5 separate regions of the Homo sapiens genome follow, and all the other regions are linked to region 4. The links are contacts of gene promoters, found by promoter capture Hi-C in blood cells and fetal thymus (Javierre and others, 2016). All regions are on one chromosome and are shown on one strand. The core of a region is centred on a gene start or on the middle of the fragment in contact, and the rest is flanking DNA. Distances in the headings are between cores, read along the strand shown. Region 1 overlaps TCF4 (transcription factor 4). Region 2 overlaps LOC105372126 (a long non-coding RNA gene). Region 3 overlaps TCF4 (transcription factor 4). Region 4 holds the start of MBD2 (methyl-CpG binding domain protein 2). Region 5 overlaps TCF4 (transcription factor 4).

Region 1 (2,700 bases), core at 179-2,678, 1.1 Mb before region 4:
GGACTGATGCTTCAGTTCACAGAGATAATTTTTCTCTGGAAAGCCGATAGATCCGATTTAGCCACCCCTCATTTGTAGTCATTGCCACCTTGTGGATTACAAAGGATATTGGTTTTCATCAAACTTCCATTTCGATTTGGCTTTTTATGGCAAGTACACGTTGGCAGTGGATTGCCGTGTTCCTCACCAAAAGGATCCTGGTTTGTTCAGCAACACCTCACTTCTCCACTCACAGTTCATTTATGATTCTGATGAGAGTGTTTTTTCAGGAAACACACATTTCACTTTTTGACCTAGGAGCATCTGTTAGAATTTTTTTTTAATACTACTTTGGCATTCTGAAAGTGTTAATGTCTTTCATATCTGTTTAATGCTATTTAGGGATATTTATGATCACCTCTTGGTTACTCAGGGTAAAGTGTGTCGCAATTTTTTTTAAACAGACAGGAAAGCATTCACATGAGGAAACAGATTGCTTTAAACATGTGCTTCCTGTGACAGTAAAAAGAACAAATTAGATTTAACACTGTGTAATGAATGCATAAATGTGTACATTTAAGCTTTTAAAAGCTTTATGTTCAGTTCTGGTCACAACAAAAATTGAGTCACCTGTAAAAATTAAAGATGCCCAGGGTACTCTCAGACTTTTGAAATGCCCAGCAATTGCAGTCCTCACCTGACGATGCCTCGTTGGAATTATAAAAAGCATGATCTATTAGTGCTGGAGAGAACTAGAACATTACAAGGCACATTCAGAGGTTAAACCAGGTTACAGTCAGATTCCGTACATTTAGCAAATAAATCAGAATTTGTTGTGGGGGGGAGAATACTTCACTCTCATCTTCCTCCCTAAGAATCAATGAAAAAATCAATTTTCGGGAACCCCATATATTCCTCTGTCTTTCATGAAAGAAAAAGAAGGAAACCTGATGTTTACTTACTAGCATTTACTACAATTTAATTATATAAGAAAATGACTCTTTTTCTTATGTAATTCAGTTTGTGTTTTGTATGCTGGCAGGGAGTGAATAGAATCTGAGTTAATATTTCCAGTTAGACTAGAGTGTGGAATTGGAGGGCCTGAATCCTCTCCCCGGAAGAAGAGGCACTCATGGCCATTTCTGTCTGAGCCTGCGGATAGTGCCTCTCCGTCCCCTGTGCTTTCAAAGCTAAGGATTTGTGGCACGCTTGCCATCTCTCTGGCCAAGGAGGGCCAGGAGAGAGTCCCTCGGGGGAGGGCACATAGTTTGAGGACATCTGACTCTCTTCTATCACATACTGAGGTACTAATATCAAAACAGACTGCTTGTCGTCGCACGGTGGGGCAGTGCTTTTTTTGGCTGCCGTGGTCGAAATGAAATGGGCAAGCTGTAGTCCGCTTGGCATCAGAATGGGCTAAGGGAAGCAGGGAAATCAGAGTCAGACTGTGAATGCAAGTCACAGCCAATGGTTAACTTCCTTTTTGTGTGTCACTTGGCAGCAGCGAGACTGATGGTGATTTTTTTTTTTAACATGGGTGAGAGTTCAGTGCCCTAGGAAGAGCCGTAGATGCTGTTATTGTGCTTCCTCATACAGTTGACTTGTGTTGATTTCTTGAGGCCAGTACAGCTGTTCCAAGAGCCAGCTCCAGGAGCTTTGTGTGTATGTACATGGCCATCGGACGTCGGATGAAAAAGGTAAACAGATGAGAGGTGATCCATACAAAATCTCACTGCTGATCACTAGGCAGTCTTAGGGGAATCAGGTTCTGGCATAAGGCAATAATACCAAAGAATAATATATAGTGCACTTGAAGGGATACTCCCTTGTATACAGACACCCAAAGATATTTTTAAATTATCACCACTCCGCACCCCTCATCTCACATACAGGATTCAAATCAATTTTGGACTGTCTGGAAAATGTAGGACTAAAATAGCCAGATTGAATTCAGATAAAATTACCTTCTGCTTTTTTGGGAGGTTGTTGCTTTTTGGTTAGCCACATTATTTTCTTTGAAGATTCATTTGGAAGAGAGTTTGGTAGAATTTCTAGCCTCTCTCAAGATTTTCCTCCCATTTCTCTGTTTGCAAAGAGCTGTTCCCCAAAGGCAAAAAGAGCGAGTTGCCATCTTGAGCGAATTGTATGTTTAGTGAACACCAAATGGTCTCAGAGTTACCCTAAATTTTCATTATATCTGGTTGCTTTCAAATACTATTTATTCCCCTCAAAACTCCTAACCATTTATATAAGATATCAGTAAGATGACCAACTTCTGACAACCCAAAAGCAGGGAAGGAAGCTTAGAAATAGAATACCATTTGTCTGGTAATTAGAGTGTATCTCTTAAGAGTTCGAGAGAATTCTGATTAACCTTTCTGTTCCCACATTCTCACGTAAAATTAGCACACCTTTTAAATTATTATCTAGTATTTAAACACATATTTTTGAGTCTTCTTAATGCAACAGGTTCTGGGGACACTAAAAGTGTGTTATAGTTTTCTAAAAAACTTCATTTTTCTTACATTTTAAATGTTCTGTTTGTGCAAAATTTCGAGAATCACCATAAGGGCTTCTTTGCATTTTTAATTTAGTAACTAACATATGAATAAATTTGCATATTAATTAGTTGCAGATTAAATCATGCATACATAATTGCCTCCTTACTGTGTTTAATGTTTGTCAAAATCTCCAGCCTGGTTTGATGGATGTCGTATGAAA
Region 2 (2,700 bases), core at 17-2,516, 1.4 Mb before region 4:
GCAAGTATATTCCTAAAATGGTCCAGTCTCACCTCAGCTGAGGCTTTAGTTTCAAGGTTCAGGGGGCACCAACAGCTATCTCCGTCTAGAGGCAAACAAAAGAGTGATTGCTTCCATTTTTACTGGTAGCCATCTTGGTATCATGAGGGAGTTAGCCTGACATAAAATTGGGCTGAGTTGAGAGAAAAGTAGAGAAATGAAGCTGGAGCTGTATTTGATGGCTCTAAACCTTTTTGGATTTGCAAGCCCTTTATCATTTAAGCCAGTTTGAATTGATTTTTCTATTGCTTCGCAACCCTGATGGCTTTTCTGCTAATCTATACACAGCATTTCTTGAATGCTCGTTTTCATGGCCATAGCCACAGCCCTATTTCAGAATCTCATAAGCAGTAGTTAAGTGAACTGCAGTAGCTTTCTAACTGGTCTCTGCCTTCAGTTTCTTTTTACCTTAATTCATCCTCCATGTTGCCTCCAGAATGTTCTTCTCAGGCACATCTTATCACTGCCACCATGTGATCATCCTAATGGTTCCATGCATTGTGAAAAAAGGCCAATGGCACATGTATACCTATGTAACAAACCTGCGCGTTCTGTGCATGTATCCCAGAACTTAAAGTATAATAAAAAAATAAAAAATACAAAATAGAAAAAAGGCCAATGGATCCAAATTTGCTGGGTTTTAACAGTTTAGTCTTTTGGTTCTTCTCACAAACCCTAACAAGATCCTTACTCTCTAGCCTTCTCATCTTTGCCAGAGTTAATGCTTCAGCCCAGGACATTCTTTTCTCTCTATCTGCTTCATGGGAATACCACTTTTCTTTCCAGATTCAACTCTAGTCTCATCTCTTCTAAGAAGCCTTCTAAGATCTCTCCAGCTGATAGCAATGACTCCTTGCATTATAGTTTTACGGCATGATTTTACCACTTGATAACTCTCTATATAGTTTGTCAGGGGTTTGGGTGATTTATTCTTGTCTAGCCTACCCATTAGCATGTAAAGGCTGGGAAGTTAAGGGCCCCAGTTTTTCATCTTGAATGAATTCTTCATTGCCCCTTGCATAGTGCTTTTCATAGACAAACTGCTCAATGTCTTGTGTCCTCAATGTCATGTGTCCTATGCTTAACTGACTAGAGCAAAGACTTCCTTTAGGAGAGGATATGGAAATAAAGTTGGAAAAGTTAGGTGGGGAGGGGGTTGGAGGGCAGCTTTTGGAGGATTTTAAAATCCAGATTAGATATATTAAGTGCAATTATTTTACTGCACTTTGGAATAGGCAAAAGATTATCTGTTTTCCAAAATTTCTTTCATTCCTTCTATATTATTTACTCTTTTTAAACTTTTACCTTTTTTTTTTTGAGACAGAGTCTTGCTTTGTCACCCAGGCTGGAGTGCAGTGCTGCAATCTTGGCTCACTGCAACCTCCGCTTCCCAGGTTCAAGTGATTCTCGTGCCTTGGCCTCCTGAGTAGCTGGGGATACAGGCACACACCACCACACCCAGCTAATTTGTGTATTTTTTTAGTAAAGACAGGCTTTCACCATGTTGGCCAGGCTGGTCTTGAACTTCTGACCTCAGGTGATCCGCCCACCTCAGCCTTTTTAACCATCTCCTTTTCTTTGGGGGAGAGGGAAGGGGGAAAGCAGCTCTCGGGTTTGAAATATCATGCAGTTTGAGAAGAAATAGAATGCAAAGATGATTAGCTTTCTTTTCTCCTCTCCATTATAATCCCATAATAGACTTCATGAATACCCTTGCTAGCAAAGCAATGAGGGCCATTGCATTAGACTGTTCTCACATTGCTATAAGAAACTACCTAAGACTGGGTAATTTATGAAGAAAAGAAGTTTAATTGACTCACAGTTCCACAGGCTGTACAGGATGCATGGCTGGGGAGGCCTCAGGAAACCTATAGTCACAGCAGACAAAGGGGAAGCAGGCACATCTTCACATGGCACAGCAGGAGAGAGAGAGCGAAGGGGAAGGGTTACATACGTTTAAACAGCCAGATCTCATGAGAAGTCACTCACTATTATGAGAACAGCAAGGGGAGTCCGCCCCCATGATTCAATCACCTCCCATCAGGCCCCTCCTCCAACACTGAGGATTACAATTTGACATGAGATTTGGGTGGGGACACAGAGACAAACCATATCACCCATCTACTTGAGCAGTGGCTATAAACTTTTTTTTTTATGATAACCTAGTATGCATGTACTATACTGTATATTATACAGCTGAAACAAGACTTTTGTAAATCAGCAATACTCTTGTTATGATGCAAGTTAGTATTTTCCGTTATGCCATTTCACTTCAAACAAACAAAAACAAAAAGTTGATCTAAATCAATTTCATGACCATTAAAGAAACGTGTTCTTCTCAGGCACATCTGATCACTGTTGTCACATGCACGATTCTAAAGGTTCCACACATTGTGAAAAAAAGCTAATGGATCCAAACTTCCTGAGTTTTAACACTTTAGTCGACATATGAAAAATGTGGCATTAAAGCATATGTATCCTAATTACTAGGTTACAACTGTTGAATGAGCTAAGTGCTTTTGCCAGTATTTTATATTTAATTTGATATAATAATTTTATGACAGAGCATTATACCCTTTTAATAGATGAGAAAAGAGAGGCTTAGAGGTACAGATCCAAGGTTACACAGCTGCATATGGCAGAGCTGAGATTTAAACAAAA
Region 3 (2,700 bases), core at 114-2,613, 1.4 Mb before region 4:
GAGTAAAAATTGATAATGATTATGGTTAGAAAAGTATCTTTATTTATATTTATATCTGGAGACTGGTAGCATAGCTTCAGTTTGTCCCCTTGGGTTTTAATATGTTGGGAATGGAGATGGGATGTTGTTTGCATCTAGCTAGTCAGCTTTTCATCTATCTAGTCTAATTCTGATTGATGGATCATCATATATATATATGTATATATACACATATATGTATAAATATGTATATACATATATAAATATATAAACGTATATATACATTTATATAAATATATAAATGTATATATACATTTATAAATATATAAATGTATATATACATATATAAATATATAAATGTATATATAAATATATAAATGTATATATACATATATAAATATATAAATGTATATATAATATATATATATATTTAGTACCTGCTATTCTCATATCTCCATGTTAGCAATTAGAGGACATAGAGGGCTTTATGGAAGAGAGAACCTTCTCTCAGAGGGCATATATTCTAACACAGGGGTGTCCAATATTTTGGCTTCCCTGGGCTACACTGGAAGAAGAAGAATCATCTTGGGCCACACATAAAATACACTAACGATAGTTGATGAGCTGAAAAACTTTTGCAAAAAAACCTCATGTTTTAAGAAAGTTCACGAGTTTGTGTTAGGCTGTAGGTTGGACAAGCTTCTTCTAACAGGAGAAAATAGAAAAGTAAAAATGTGATTAACATCTAGCATTGGGAAGACACAATAATGTGGGAGTTTAGAGAAATGAAAACTTATTTCTTTCATGGGGAAATTAATAATGAAGGGTTCATGGAAAACTCAATTCTAATCCTTGAAGGAATGGTAGAATTTTGACAAGTAGGTAGTGAGACTGAGCGTGCATATCAGGATCACTGTGAACCAAGCACAGATGAAAGAAACTGGAAAGGGTAGATTAAAGAGAGCTCCCAGAAAGAGAAGTTTCTTGGCTCTAAAGTGGAGTCAACTCTGGTCTAGACACATGGGATGATTTCCAGGCAAAAACCCCTGTCTTGGTTGCCGTTTATTTTCTTGACTGAGTTTGCGTTTCACTCGGGGGTGTTACCGATTATAATCCAGTTCCATCCAAAAGTATATGTTTTTAATGGTAGTGTCGGGATGGAAATTGAAGATTTTGTGTCCCTACTTCCCAAAATTCTTCCTATAATATCACTCAGCAGTGGAAACTTTCTTGAGCCAAATGAAGCTGCTTTGGAGAAAATTGTTCATGTAGCCAAATTCTGGAAATCTAGGTTCTTTTGCAATGTTTGCTGGTAAGTAGCTGTTTCATATTGAGGAAGTGGTAGAATCTTAAAGGCTGCACCTCAAAACTAAACAAAATCGAAACTCACCAGTACAATTCAAGAGGGGTTTTCACATTTTTTAAAAAGGAATACTGCTGTATTTAAAACATTTTAAGATTGCAAAAATTCATCATTATAATTTTTATTATCATCACTGGCATCACCATGACCAGTGTCACATTGTTTGGTCAAAAGCTGGAATGGAAATGTGATAGTTATCTTTGCCATATTATATATTGAGAAATGCGTTTAAAACTTTTCCGGAGATACCGTGATCTTAGCAAAAACTAATGTAATATTTGTAAAAACATTGTGAAGTGGCCAGATATACCTTTTAATGAAACTGACCAGAAGTACATCACAAATAGAAAAATACACGTGTGTGTGTATGTGTATACCATCCCTTCCCCCAAATATTGTTCAGATTAAAGTGTCTTTCTCTCTGTGACCTGCAAGTATCTTAACTTAGCATGTGTGTCCAATTTCCATAGTGAAGCCAAAAATTCAAATGATGGTTGATATTGGCTTAGGAAGAATTTATTAATGAATGACTGTGCTTGGTATAGAGTAAAAAAAAAAATTTATGACAAAGAGGATATTCTAGACTCATGTAAAAGATTTCAGTTAAGAACCTATGAATTCCTCAACCTTTTTCTTCACTTTTCAAAAAGTAAAGGATTTATATTGGAAATATTTTGCAACCCTACAACCTGAAACTCAAAGCTTTGGTCAGCAGGTGGTAATAATATTTCCAGGTTGAATATCCAATTTCATACATAACCCAATTTGTAAGTTTGAAAAGAAATATTAAACGATGTCAGTTTTAATGCTTGTTTGAATAATTGTTCTTTGTTATGTGCCCTCTTGGACATTATTGTCCACTAGTGCCCCAAACCATTGAATGCTTTTCTGTTCTCTTATGGCCACTGTGATTCTTCAATCTAGTTACTTCTAACTGCAAGATTAATTTTCTTCTGACATCTAATTTTCCCCTGATTTTATTAACATCTTATTATTCTTTTTCTGGCTCATTTTGAACAATTTCTCTTTTATATGGGGTGTATATTTGTAGTGTCCCACTTGTAAGGGAATTCTACACTTTAATCCTTAGTAATTTTGGTAGAATTGGGATAAGATGAGAGATAGTCCATAATTGTTTAAGGCTTGATTGTTTAAAGAAGGTTGAAAGCTTCAGAAAAGTGGAAGTGGATGAATGCATGCCATGTTCTTATTATTTTTTCAGTGTGAGTGTGTTTCACTGGAGTAACGATAGAGTTATTAGGAATTATTACCTTTAATTTACTTATGTGCACATTCATTCGTCCACTCATTCATTCATTCATTCATTCAGTGAAAGTTTTTTTTTTTTTGAGAGCCAA
Region 4 (2,700 bases), core at 126-2,625:
CCATTCTCCTGCCTCAGCCTCCGGAGCAGCTGGGACTACGGGCGCCCGCCACCACGCCCAGCCAATTTTCTGCATTTTTAGTAGAGACGGAGTTTCATCGTGTTAGCCAGGCTGGTCTTGAACTCCTGACCTCAGGTGATCTGCCCGCCTCTGCCTCCCAAAGTGTTGGGATTACAGGCGTGAGCCACCGCGCCCGGCCCACAGATGACTTCTAAATGAATGTCTCCAGTACTGATCTCCTCAGAACTCATTTCTTGATGATTTTTTACATTCACATTTCTAAATTTCTTGTAGGAAACCACAAATTAGTGTCTTTCAACTAAAGGACATTAAAAGAAGACTAAGGTCAGGTTTAGAGACAGACAAGTTTGTGTGTATGAGTTAATGTTTGCATATACTGCAAAGATAAACCAAATTAATTTTAGATTTTTGTTGCTTTATATTAATCAACTTTTTCTATACGTTAAACTTGGTCCTCAGTTTTTAGGGCATATGAGTATAGAAACCCAAGATAGCTTATCATCAGGCTGATAACATGTGCTTTACATTTTTCAATCTTCCAAATATTTCATAATATATTATCTTGAATATCAATAGCACACTTCTATAAGTGTTCGACAACTTATAGAAAATATGCATTTCTAAAATTCAAGTTGGCAGACCGAAAAGAATACCACACAGTTTCCTAAAGGCTTGTGACAGTAAGTTAGGCTGGACTTTCAACATAATGGAATATTTACCAAATAAAAGGCCACTGATTTTTGTATTAGACAAAGACATCTGGAAATTTCTAGATGGATTTAGGGATTCTGGTCATTCTAAGGAGAATCTAGAGGTAAGCCCCATCTGACTCATGGGCATATTCCAAGTTATCATTTCCTTTCCTACATCCTTACAAGGTTCCAGGAGAATCTGTCAATGGCTCTGAAGCCAGGCTCAGGAGGGAACTGGTATTCAGCGAATGGGACACTTTGCTTCATTCCTTCATTATAAGCTCCCCTGCAAGCTTTGTGCAGAGGGGCGGGAAAAGGGGCTATCACCCCCTTAAATGAATAGCCGAGTTGGTATGTAATATAAGATCTATTTTGCTTGTTATTCATTAATTGGGAAGCAAACATAGGTAAAATCACATAATGGTGGAGGTTACCCCGTTTGAAACAAACTAACCACAGTCACTATGACACCCCCAGCTGGTGGCTAGCCCGACCAACCTTCCCAGCTCCGCGCGCCCAGTGGGGGCCGGAAAAGCGCGGGAGGGGGCGTGGCCCCGAGAAGGCGGAGACAAGATGGCCGCCCATAGCGCTTGGAGGACCTAAGAGGCGGTGGCCGGGGCCACGCCCCGGGCAGGAGGGCCGCTCTGTGCGCGCCCGCTCTATGATGCTTGCGCGCGTCCCCCGCGCGCCGCGCTGCGGGCGGGGCGGGTCTCCGGGATTCCAAGGGCTCGGTTACGGAAGAAGCGCAGCGCCGGCTGGGGAGGGGGCTGGATGCGCGCGCACCCGGGGGGAGGCCGCTGCTGCCCGGAGCAGGAGGAGGGGGAGAGTGCGGCGGGCGGCAGCGGCGCTGGCGGCGACTCCGCCATAGAGCAGGGGGGCCAGGGCAGCGCGCTCGCCCCGTCCCCGGTGAGCGGCGTGCGCAGGGAAGGCGCTCGGGGCGGCGGCCGTGGCCGGGGGCGGTGGAAGCAGGCGGGCCGGGGCGGCGGCGTCTGTGGCCGTGGCCGGGGCCGGGGCCGTGGCCGGGGACGGGGACGGGGCCGGGGCCGGGGCCGCGGCCGTCCCCCGAGTGGCGGCAGCGGCCTTGGCGGCGACGGCGGCGGCTGCGGCGGCGGCGGCAGCGGTGGCGGCGGCGCCCCCCGGCGGGAGCCGGTCCCTTTCCCGTCGGGGAGCGCGGGGCCGGGGCCCAGGGGACCCCGGGCCACGGAGAGCGGGAAGAGGATGGATTGCCCGGCCCTCCCCCCCGGATGGAAGAAGGAGGAAGTGATCCGAAAATCTGGGCTAAGTGCTGGCAAGAGCGATGTCTACTACTTCAGGTACCTCCCTGGGGGCGGGGAGGGGGTGGCGGGGTCAGGCCGGGGTCAGGGGTCAAGAGCGGGCCTGGGCAGAGGATGAGCGCTGGGGCCCGGGGGGCATGTGGCAGGGACAGGCTGGTTTGGTGGTGGAAGGTGGCGGAACCCTTGGGTGAGAGTTGACCCCAGTGCGGTGGGAGGCAGTGTCAAAAGGTGAGGGCCCGCAGGAGGGCATCTTATGTGGAAGGCGTCGGGGAAGATGGTTTGCGAAGAAAGGGTTAGCCTGGCAGGGATGGTTAGTCCACTGAAGGGTTAAAAGGAGGTGTAATTCATCGAAACTATAAAACCCAGTCACTGTTGGCTCCTGTCCCAGCCTGTCCCAGATTCATCATCACAAGTGTTAAGCATGCACATGTGGAAGAATGAGCTATCTACAGTAACAAGGTTTCATTTACTTCATCCAAGAAAGTTTTGTATAAAGCAGCTATTTGGAATGCCTGAAGTTTTTTTGGAACTTCTTGGTATTGCAGAATATACTCTTTTGAAACTGACACACTGTACTAAGTTTTTAGACTCCTAGACCAAAATTTGCTCCCCAGGGAACATTTGTCAATGTCTGGAGACATTTTCGGTTCTCACACCTGGGGAGGGTGTGATACTGGCATCTAGTGGGTAGAGGCCAGAGATGCTGCTACATA
Region 5 (2,700 bases), core at 151-2,650, 1.0 Mb before region 4:
TATGCTAAAGATTACCCTGGAATATCTATCTGGTTCATGAATTAATCTGGCTTAGAACTTTAACTTCGAATGACATGTTAGTATGTGGCTTGTCTAGTAGAAACATTATGTCCTTTTCTCTTTGAGGACTTGGTTTCACAGTAATTTTATTATTAGAGTAGTCACATAATGTTCACTTTATATTTTACAAGAATATTGAGCCTTGAAGTAGTCAGGCGATGAACAAGCACAGAGCATAAGAGTAATAAGAATTGTATCCAGCAATGTGAAGGCATCTTAGTTACCAAGACCACCAGCAGAGAACAATAAACTAGTTTGATTTAAATCTCCTCCATTTCCTGTGCACGATCAGGAAGCCCAACTTCCCCCTGAATTCCTAGGAATCCCTCCTGTTAAAAAATAGTGCATTGTAGTCTATATACTTGCGTTTGTATTTTAAAATGGTTGTAGTAGGAGTGCTGGAAATGTTCCTTCTTTTTGTCATCTTTATAGATAAGCACATGGCATTGTTATGCTGTTTCTAATGGTTTAATAACACGAGGGTCACTCGGACACAGTTTAGAAAAACCTACTTTGAAAGCAGTCATCTTCTCTCAGGCAAACACAGTGTGAATTGTGCTGCTTATTCTTTTGATGCCTTCATGATGTTCCCAGCCTTAGATGATGGGTGTGCATTAAAGGGGCAACACATTTTCCAAATTCTGATTTTTAGTAGTTGATCCCAAGGCACCACTCATCCCAGTGTTTTGTTGAGGGTGTGTTCTAATGGGAATGAACATTTCCCCAAAGCTGAGGCTGAGACAGAGGGTGGTCTAGCATGTAACCCAAGATACAAAACCTTTCTTTCTGCTTCATCTTCTAGCCAGCAACACCACCTGTGTTCAAGCCATCTGAACAATACTTGGGTGGCAGGCAGTGTCGAAGCCTCCTACAAAAATTACAGTTCCTCTTAATAACTGCTCATCTTCCATTCATATTTGTATGTTACAGCTCTACTTAGGGACTGATTATATTTCTCTTGGGCAAGATAAATTGATTAGAGCCAAAATTAGAAATCGATAAAGTCTTTACCAAGCAAATGCATTAGTTTTCATCTTTCTGTTACATGGACATTTTGATCATCTCTAATATGAATTGACAAAAATCTTGGGCCTCAAAGAGTAATCAAGTCCTGTTACATCAAACCCACATTTTCAGCTTTAATGTATCTTGCTAAACATGGCCCACTTCTCAATGCAAAAAAAAAAAAAAAATTCTGCCACTTGAGAATTAAAATATATTTCTTTTCCAGTTATACCCTTTGTTATATCTGTCACACAAATAAAAAGAGAAATCTGTAAGAGAAAGACTCATGTAGCTTAACATGTTCAGGCAATCTAGAAAATGTAGCTTCTCCAGTGTTTCCTGGACCAGAACAAAAGGCATTCCAAGTGAAAGGGCAAACTGGCCCCAGTAAACTGCTTTGAAATTTAAGCCCTTGGGTTTGGCACTCCAGCTGTTGCAAGGTAAAATCGCTTCATGTTAAAAAATAGTCTGTTCTTATCAGTGGTTTCCATGGGTAGCCTTTGTAGTTTTCTGAAATATTTTCATGACGCGATGAGGTAAGAAGTTGATTCTATTTTTAATTCTATTTCCTGAGTCATAATATCTCCCTGCATAAAACAGGCACTGATAGAATGTTTAGTTAGAAAGGTGTAGTTCTAAAGAAATCAGATTGGTCATAATATCTTGCCTCTTCTAACGTGTGATTTTTGGGGCGTATATATTTAGTTTTTAAATGCTCCTAAAATATTTGTATTGGTTTTCAATACTTTGTTTAGTTTCATAAAAATATATATATTATTTGTAATCTTCATTTTAAAGTTGTTTAAAGGAAGAATTAATCTTTTGAAAGCCACTACTGTAGCAGATATTATCTGTAGTGAAGCAATATCTTGTTCTTTTTTGGCTTAGGTTCTTTGTTAGATAATGTGATTTTTCCAATGTAGCTCTGAACTTTTTGTGAAAATCTATATTCAAATCAAGCAGATATCACAGATTATTTTGACTGATAGATCTAATTTTTAGGTATATAATAATGAAAAGAAATATCGCTTCTAGGAAAAAAAAAAAGATAAGTACCCCCAAATACCATGGTAATACATACTGAAAAAAGGTTAGTATCATCTATATTTCACATCATTATTATTTTCTCTTTAGAATGGTTTTTAGGTTTGTTTGTTGTTCTTGTTGTTTGAGGCAGAGTTTTGATCCTGTTGCCCAGGCTAGAGTGCAATGGCGCAATCTCAATCTCGGCTCACTGCAACCTCCGCCTCCCAGGTTCAAGCGATTCTCCTGCCTTAGCCAGGCATAGTGGTGCATGCCTGCAATCCATGTTTTTAGTTTTTAAAGGACTCCTTAATGCAGAAATTCTTCTCATTTTCACACTAGATATAATTTGTTGTATTTTATCTTATATTAAATATTTTTAATACTCTTGATATCTGAGCTGCTCCCAGTGGTCCAATTGTATGATGTCAGACCCTCATTTCAAAGAACTTGCTTATACAATACCTATCATGAGTACTAATGACTCATGTATTTTAATATCATAACTTTGTGATATGGAAGTTTATTTTGTCACGAGATAATTGTGTTCTTCTTATCATGTGCCAGATTTCTTTCAGTATTTTAGCAATTAACAAATAAATATGGGTGTGG

The links. The method cuts DNA at HindIII sites, captures the fragments that hold promoters and counts their contacts. A CHiCAGO score of 5 or more calls a contact.
Region 1: a fragment that was not itself captured here is called in contact with the fragment with the promoter of MBD2 in region 4 in 1 of 17 cell types (monocytes); the score reaches 5.9 in monocytes.
Region 2: a fragment that was not itself captured here is called in contact with the fragment with the promoter of MBD2 in region 4 in 1 of 17 cell types (neutrophils); the score reaches 9.8 in neutrophils.
Region 3: a contact is called between a fragment that was not itself captured here and the fragment with the promoter of MBD2 in region 4, in 1 of 17 cell types (neutrophils). The highest score is 9.1, in neutrophils.
Region 5: a fragment that was not itself captured here is called in contact with the fragment with the promoter of MBD2 in region 4 in 1 of 17 cell types (M1 macrophages); the score reaches 5.2 in M1 macrophages.

The regions. Positions count from the first base shown.
Region 1 is chr18:55,336,823-55,339,522 of GRCh38, reverse strand. The region is part of intron 8 of TCF4 (transcription factor 4); the gene reads left to right. Among named protein-coding and RNA genes, the nearest start is that of TCF4-AS1, 110 kb to the left of the region's middle. The HindIII fragment of the contact is 1,711 bases long and covers 573-2,283 here.
Region 2 is chr18:55,596,323-55,599,022 of GRCh38, reverse strand. LOC105372126 (a long non-coding RNA gene) reads right to left here. Exons shown (of 3, transcript XR_935479.3): 2 at 1,860-1,943. It also overlaps a transcript of TCF4 not described here. Among named protein-coding and RNA genes, the nearest start is that of TCF4, 9.5 kb to the right of the region's middle. The HindIII fragment of the contact is 2,893 bases long and covers 1-2,700 here.
Region 3 is chr18:55,574,778-55,577,477 of GRCh38, reverse strand. The region is part of intron 3 of TCF4 (transcription factor 4); the gene reads left to right. Among named protein-coding and RNA genes, the nearest start is that of TCF4, 12 kb to the left of the region's middle. The HindIII fragment of the contact is 1,366 bases long and covers 681-2,046 here.
Region 4 is chr18:54,223,344-54,226,043 of GRCh38, reverse strand. It overlaps MBD2 (methyl-CpG binding domain protein 2), which reads left to right and starts at 1,375. Exons shown (of 7, transcript NM_003927.5): 1 at 1,375-2,026. The coding sequence starts at 1,485. RefSeq lists an enhancer at 1-534 and a silencer at 1,285-1,674. The HindIII fragment of the contact is 9,949 bases long and covers 1,009-2,700 here.
Region 5 is chr18:55,263,143-55,265,842 of GRCh38, reverse strand. The region is part of intron 11 of TCF4 (transcription factor 4); the gene reads left to right. Among named protein-coding and RNA genes, the nearest start is that of LINC01929, 140 kb to the right of the region's middle. RefSeq lists an enhancer at 1,424-1,703. The HindIII fragment of the contact is 4,499 bases long and covers 1-2,700 here.